Linked DNA regions of Homo sapiens: region 1 is linked to region 2. The links are contacts of gene promoters, found by promoter capture Hi-C in human tissues and cell types (Jung and others, 2019). All regions are on one chromosome and are shown on one strand. The core of a region is centred on a gene start or on the middle of the fragment in contact, and the rest is flanking DNA. Distances in the headings are between cores, read along the strand shown.

Region 1 (3,472 bases), core at 719-3,218, 590 kb after region 2:
GTGTCCCATTTCCGCCCTTGATTACCTAAGCCAAGAGTCTGCTGGGCACCTGCTGCCTGCCTGCCAGGTCCCCAGTAAGATCCTTCCCAACATGCGGGCAGCTGAATAAGGCAGCCACTGCCCCTGCCCTCAGGGAGCTCACAGTCTCCTGAGAGAGACCTCCAGGAACCCACAGATATATAAAACGAATAAATGCAATATTAGAATGTGATGCAGGCTAGGAAGGGAAGAGAGGTGATTTTCACAGGGTGCAGTGACATACTTGAAATATATCAGGGGTTGTCCATCTCCCTGGCCACCTCTGACTTCCCCTGCTTGAAGGGGTGAATTCACCCCACGGTGGCACGTAGTAGGTGCTCAGTAAATGTTGAATGAGTGAATACATGGATGACAGCACTGTCCAGAGCCAATTTCTTGGGTCTTGTAGGCTAAACAGATGAGGAGTGGCAAGGCAGGACTTCTGGGAGCAAGGTTGGTCCCCTGGGAGTCCTGGGAGGGCTGAAAGGGGTTAAGTGTGAGTTAAAATGAGAGTGATGGACAAATGTCACTCTCCCAAGGGAGGCCCCCTTACTCCCTGTTTTATTTATTTATTTACTTATTTATTTTGAGACCGAGTCTTGCTTTGTTGCCCAGGCTGGAGTGCAGTGGCCAGGTAACAGCTCACTGCAGCTTTGAACTTCTGGGCTCAAGGGATCCTCCTGCCTCAGCCTCTTGAGTAGCTGGGACCACAGGCACGTGCCAACACGCCTGGCTAATTTTTTTTTTTTTTTTTTGCGACGGAGCTTTGTTCTTCTTGCCCAGGCTGGAGTGCAGTGGCGCAGTCTCGGCTCACTGCAACCTCCGCCTCCTTGATTCAAGCGATTCTCCTGCCTCAGCCTCCCGAGTAGCTGAGATTACAGGTATACGCCACCATGCCCGGCTAATTTTGTATTTTAGTAGAGACGGGGTTTCCTCATATTGGCCATGCTGTTCTCGAACTCCTGACCTCAGCTGATCTGCCTGCCTTGGCCTCTCAGTGTGCTGGGATTACAGGCGTGAGCCACCGCGCCCTGCCTAAACTAAAAAAAAATTTTTTTGTAGAGATAGGTTCTTGCTATGTTACCCAGGGTGGTCTCCAACTCCTGGGTTCAAGCGGTCCTCCCGCTTCCGCCTCCTAAAGTGTTTGGATTACAGGCGTGAGACATGGCGCCCGGCCTCTTACCTGTTTTAAATTGTCCTTTCTCTCCGCTGGCTCCTTGAGCCCCTTTCCTGCTTATTTTTCTCTCGTTAGAGTTTTTCACTACCTCACACATCATATATTTGCCTTATTTATTGAGTGTCTGTCTCCCCACCGTAGTATAAACTCCACGAGGGCAGGGATTCGTGCGTGTGGCTCACCGGCGGCTCTCCAGCGCCTGGACAGGGCTGACCCCCAGCAGGCGCTCTGTGAAGGTGTGCAGAGTGGGCGAAGGTGCATGCGCGGGCCGTGGGGCGGGGACAGGTGGAGGAGCCAGTCAGACCCAAGTGCAGCGGGACGAGGGCGAGGTTAATCTGAGCAAGAAAAGCGTAAATTCTGCTTATCTACAAATGTAAACAGTACTGTCGGCCAGACGCAGGGTCCGGGGCGGGTCGGCCCGGACTCAGGGTCTGCTTGGAGGCAGAGCTAGATTAGGGCGGGGTCGTCCTGTGGCCTACCATTCCCCGAGGCTGAGGGCCTTGGAGGGCGGGGCCAGTGAAGGGGGAGGGGACTTCCTGAGGTGTGACCAATCTAGAGAAAGGACTGGGCTGAGGGCGTGGTCAAACAAGCGACATCTAAAAATAAGGGGCGGGGCTAGAACCAGGGGGAGTTCGCCTGGGGCGGGGCCAGAGTGGGGCGGGACCAGTTAGGGGGCAGGGCCAACCTGGGCGGGGCCATGGCCGGGGACGTGGGCGGGACCAGGTCAGGGGCGGGGCCAGGCCAGGATCTCCGCTGTCCCGGGTCCTGGAGCTCTCTCGGCCCGGCAGGTTTCGCTCCCGCCCCTCCGGCCTTCCACAGCTGTCCTGGCCGCAGGGTGTTCAAGGCGGGACACACCAGGCTAGAGATCCGCGATCGGGCCCCGCCTCAGGTACTGCGCTCCAGGCCAGGCGGGCGCGGGTAAGCGCTCAGCTCCCGAGCCAGGCGGGCTTCCAGGGCACTTCCCCTAGGCTGCATTCCCAAAGGCTCCCGAGGGCGAGGGTGAGCAAAGCTGCGGGGACCTGTGTGTGCATGCGTGTGCGATTGCCTCTACGTGTGTGTACGTGTGTGTGCATGTGCGCACGGGTGTGTGTGCGTGTGTGCACGTCTGTGCACACCAGGGGAATTGCGTGCGTGGAGCTGGGCAGGTGCGTGTTTCAGGGTGTGTGTGCAAAGTTGGAGGCGTGTGCAAAAGCAGTCCCGTGTGGGAGGGAAACCTGCGTGTGTACATGTGTGTGATAGAGACAGTGCCTGTGAAATGTGGTGAAGGCTGTGTGTGTATGTCAGGGTGTCTGGGAGGAAAATGGGAGGGCAGGTGCAAGGAGACTCGGGGGTGGGCTGTAGGCCAGCAAGTCTGTGGCAAGCTGCGGGGTGCATGCGTGAATAGAACCGTGGGAGTGTAAGAATTGCAAATGTGTGTGTGTCTGTGTGGGTGGCCGTAAGGCTTCTGGGGGCCCTCAGTGTGAAGGGGTGGGGGTAGAGGAAAGTTTGGGGGTGCTGACTGCTCTTGGAAGGCTGAGCGTGGTCTGGGGCCATGGCTAATGACAGGGAAGCTGTTGGGGCTTGGCCTGGAGTAATTTGGGGGGAATATCAGCCTTCTCAATTTGAAGGCTGGGGAGCTGTGTGGGTGGGGCCAGGGGCTGCCCCTTACACTTGGTGGGTGGTGTCCCTGCTTCCCGAGGTGGGAGCTGCAACCTCACCAGTCACTCCTCGCCCCAGGCTCTGTGCACACCCCTGCCTGGTGACCTCCATTGGTGCTCCAGCGTGAACATGGTGCAAAGATACCAGTCTCCTGTCCGAGTCTACAAGTACCCGTTTGAGCTGGTCATGGCGGTGAGTGACTCCTGATTCTTGGGCCCCCATGTGACAGTTGGAGGGGCTTGAGATCAGCTATGGCGGTAGGAAGACGGAGCTCCTTAGACTCCCAGATCAGAAGGAATTAGTGAGTTACTCAGCTGACCTGGTGGGTTTAACTTCTATCCAGTGACCTCTCTGTCCAACCATCCTATCCTCGGCCCAGTGACCAAAACACAAAGTCTTTCTTCCTTCTCCTTGTTGAAGCTGACCTGCTCCCTTACTTTAGACTCTCCTGATAGAAAACAAAGGTATCAGGGGCCAAGCCACTGCTGTCATTTCATATAATGGCATATCACAGTGATAAATGGAATGGTGGTGATAATGACAACAGCTGTTTATTGAATGTTTACAGCACTGTCTTAACAGATGATGTTTCTTCCAATTCCCGATAGCTGTTATTTTCCCATGTAACCTCCATGAAAC
Region 2 (3,837 bases), core at 771-3,270:
GGATCCTTTGACCCCCCTCCACCCCCACAGCCCCTAGCTCCCCCGCTGTGTGCAGACTGCTGGTAACCAGGTTCTAAAGGCGGGTGGCACCTTGAAACCATACAAGGCAATGTTGGATAAACTGAGAGGGGTCTCCTAAAAGCTTCCCTTGAGCCTCTGGGTAAGTGGGGACCTGTGTAAGGCCAGGGCACAGGATTGGGGCAGGGGGTGAACACCAGGCAGATGGGGTCTCTCCGTCTACAAGAACCTGCCACAGAGGTGAGAAGCTTCAAGGACATCAGGAGGTCCTGTTCCTTGAGGAAAGCCAGGCTGGAGGCTCTTGGAGCCCTCTTTACCCCTGACCCTGGGCATCTGTGGATGCTTCTGAGGGCTTCAGAGGACACAGGGCCAAGGGAAGAGGCAGGGAAACAGTCCGACAAGAGGCTGCACAGCACTGATTGGAAACTCAGATGGTTCTGGGGCCGGGCAGGAAACTCAAGTGAGTGGACAGCTTGGCAGGAGGCAGCAGGGAGTGGTGGGGACTGGGGTGACCCATGAGCCCACATTTTGGCAGAGGGAGCAACCGCCACTCAGCCCCAGCTGAGAGTTCCTGTTCAATGCAAGCTGGGAAGCCCCATTTTAATATGAAACCACCTGATTTTTCAATGTTAGCAGTGCCTTCAAAGTTGTAAAAACTCCCATAAAGCCTGCACTAAATGCACCCAAAGGCCAGCCCCAACCCAGGAACAGAGGTCCGCAAGCCATGCCCTAATCCATGTAGACCGAGAAACGTATGGGTTGTGGAGCCCTGCCAGCCCTGGAAAGGGGCCCTGTGGGGAGAGGGCCCTGTGGACGGGAGGTCCAGAAGGTGACTGTCCCAGCCAGGCCCTGCTTAGCCCTTGACGGCTAGACACAGAGGCCATCCTGCCTTCTGGAGATAACTGAGTCCTCCAGAGACTAGGAAACCCTCCAGCTGGTGTGGCCCAGCCTCCCAGGGATAAGCCTTCAGGCCCCCCAAAGACTAGAGCTAGCCCAGCCAAGGGCCTTGGCTACAGGCCGGGCTGGAGGGGGTGTGGGTGTCCCAAGGCTCTCCGGAAGTCAGGAGCTGAGCTGGGCCCCCAAAGGCTCTGAGGCATGACTGACCACAAACGCGGAGGGGGAGGAGGGCAGAGTGTTTTCCTGGAATCCTCCAAGGCAGGGGATTTTTCTGGACTAGTCCGGCCCCTGGCACCCGCCCCTCCTGCCCAATCAAGGGCCACTGTCAACTGCAGCCCAGGCCCCACCCACCGACGGTGACCACCCCTATGCCTCCACAGCTCAGGCTTGAAGCTGCCAGTAACTGTGGGGCCGTGGGCAGACCACCACTGCCCTCCCTGACACAGCCCCTTCATCTCATAATATGGTGGGGAAGAGAGTCCAGGGCTGCTCACAACTCTTAAGGCTGTCGTGGCTAAGAGGACCCTGAGCTCAGATTTGGCATTGGAGTTTATACTTAGGAGGCTCTTGAAAGGGCTTTGTGTGGGCTGCCAGGAGTTTTTTGAAATTGGGATTAGCTACCAACAATAACACATTGAGAGATTTCACCTAAAAATCTGGATTTCCAGTTTCTCTTCAAAAATCCAAAGCTCTAGCTGGCCCGGGCTGGTCATGAGGACTCAGCCCTTACCAGCCCCACTCCCGCCATCCTGCCTCTCCAGGGCCGCAGAGGCCCTGGGGTGGACTTCTGGCATTTGTCACCTGCCTGGTGCCTCATAGGCATCTGGGCTGTGACGCTTAGGATTCCTAAATAGTCTCTCGCTTTTTACACAAAAAGCAGAAACCTGCCCAGTGTCATCCGGCAAACCCACGACGGGCAAGGTCTCCCCGCGCAGGTCAGGTGGCCGCAGGGTGAGGGCCAGGGCAACCCGGCCCACGAGCCCCTCGGTGGGGAAGGGGCGTGTCTCCACGCGGCTCCGCCCCGGCCAATGGGGAGAGGCCCCGCCCCTGCCGCGGCGGGCCCGCCCCCCGGGACTCTTAAGGCGCGACCTGCCTCCAGCGAGCCGACTCCGGAGCCCGAGCCCGGGGCGGGTGGACGCGGACTCGAACGCAGTTGCTTCGGGACCCAGGACCCCCTCGGGCCCGACCCGCCAGGAAAGACTGAGGCCGCGGCCTGCCCCGCCCGGCTCCCTGCGCCGCCGCCGCCTCCCGGTGAGTTTCTGTGGGGCTGGGGGGCTGCGGGCGGGGAAGGGGGCGCCACGGCCAGGCTGTGCACACGCGCGGGGACCGCCGCCGCGCGCACACACGCACTCTCGGGCGGGACCGCGGCCCCAGCCCCACACGGTCACCTGGGCCGCCCGGCGGGCAGGCCCTGTACGCTCCCTCCCCCGCCGTCCTGGGGCGCCGACAGCCCCGCGGCCGGCCAGGGTGCGCGCCTGAGTGTGCGGTGAGCCCGCGAGGCTGCAAGCAGACAAAATAAACACCCCGTCCCATGCTTCCTCCTCCCACGGCTGGGCCTCCGGCATGACCAGTTTTATGAATCAAACCCCTTTGAGGGGGATAGCCAAGCCACAGGCTTGGGTCACTTTTCCCTCCTGGGGTCCGGCAGTAGGTGCTGCTGTGCAGAAGGGCTGCCCGGGGTCCTCTGGACCCTTGTCACTCAAAGCACAGCTGGGGGCTACAGATATGCAGCCCTAGGGAGGGGCGGGGAGTGGCTGGTGGGCGTCCGATGCCCATCCCTCCAGGTGGGGGATGGACCTGTACTGGCCAGGGCCCTTAGAGCTTCGGGTATCAGGCAGGGTGCCGGGTCTCTGCCTCTGCCAGGGAAGGGGCTTTGCTTGGGCTGCAAACCCAGTGGCCTGGAGCCAGCCTAGTCCTTTGTGTCCCTGGGCTGGCAGTGCTGGGGCCTGAGGACTGCTGAGGTCCCCTGTGGTCACTGGCAGGCCAGCCGATTGGTGCCAACCATTCTGCCTCTCCCCCATTCGTTAACGATTGCCACACCAGGGTCACTGACCGCCTCCCCTGCTGTGGCCCAGGGGTGGAGTGTGCAGGGTGGAAGGAAGAGGTCCTGGGGGTCTAGGTGTCCCCATGCCTGCCTTTTGCACCAAGGACAGGTGAGGCTCTGGAGAGAGGCAGCGGGACCTAGAGCCCCCTTCCCCAGGCTGAGAGCCTCCAGGGCTGGGGATTGGATAAAATCTCCAAGGTCCCTTCACACTAGACTGTACTTTGGGTGTTGAGGGCATAGAGGGGTGGCCGGGCTGGGACCTTCCAAGCAGGGTCCATTAGGGCCAGTCCAGGGGGCAGCAAAGTCCAGGATGGGCCCAGCTATTGACAAAAACCCAACAGAGCTGGGGCAGGCGGGTGGGGGATGGGGAGCAGTCCCCTGAGTTTACTCTCTTCTCCCAGGGGAGTTGGCCTGGAGCTTCTGTAAACAGAGTGTCAGAGGCAGGAAGAGGCTCTGGTGATGAGCAGCCCAGCTGGATCCCCTCCAGACCATTATCTAGCCTCCCCTGGGCCTGGGGAGGGAGGATGCGCACACACATGCCAGCCTGGGGGCCGGGCACTGCCTGTCCCCACCCCGCCCCTGTCTCCTGCACGTTGGAACAGCTGTCCTGCTACCTGTGGGTCCGGAGGGTCAGATGGGGATGGGGCTGGGGGCTGGGGTCCCAGGGCATTTGTCCAGATGGCACCTCTCTCTCCATATTCTGGGAATGGGAGAATGGGATTCAGCATAAGGAGCCTCTCAGACACTGCCCAGACCTGTGCTTACCCGAGGAAGGCCCCTCTGGCACGCAGCCCAGGGGCCAGGGAGATGGCAAGGGAGATGCCCCGGGCAGGAGATGGGTCCGCGGCTCCTAGCTCCCATTACTGTCACCCCCACTG

Evidence for each region. Contacts are between HindIII fragments. The study calls those that stand out against the background at their distance.
Region 1: a contact is called between the fragment with the promoter of SEC14L5 here and the fragment with the promoter of VASN in region 2, in 1 of the 25 tissues and cell types used here (spleen).

The regions. Positions count from the first base shown.
Region 1 is chr16:4,956,362-4,959,833 of GRCh38, forward strand. SEC14L5 (SEC14 like lipid binding 5) reads left to right here and starts at 1,969. Exons shown (of 16, transcript NM_014692.2): 1 at 1,969-2,084; 2 at 2,912-3,025. The coding sequence starts at 2,963. RefSeq lists silencers at 1,854-2,063, 1,862-2,157 and an enhancer at 1,961-2,496. The HindIII fragment of the contact is 18,853 bases long and covers 1-3,472 here.
Region 2 is chr16:4,369,828-4,373,664 of GRCh38, forward strand. VASN (vasorin) reads left to right here and starts at 2,021. Exons shown (of 2, transcript NM_138440.3): 1 at 2,021-2,166. All of the region lies in intron 9 of CORO7-PAM16 (CORO7-PAM16 readthrough), which reads right to left. The region is part of intron 9 of CORO7 (coronin 7); the gene reads right to left. RefSeq lists an enhancer at 1,403-2,228. The HindIII fragment of the contact is 27,496 bases long and covers 1-2,639 here.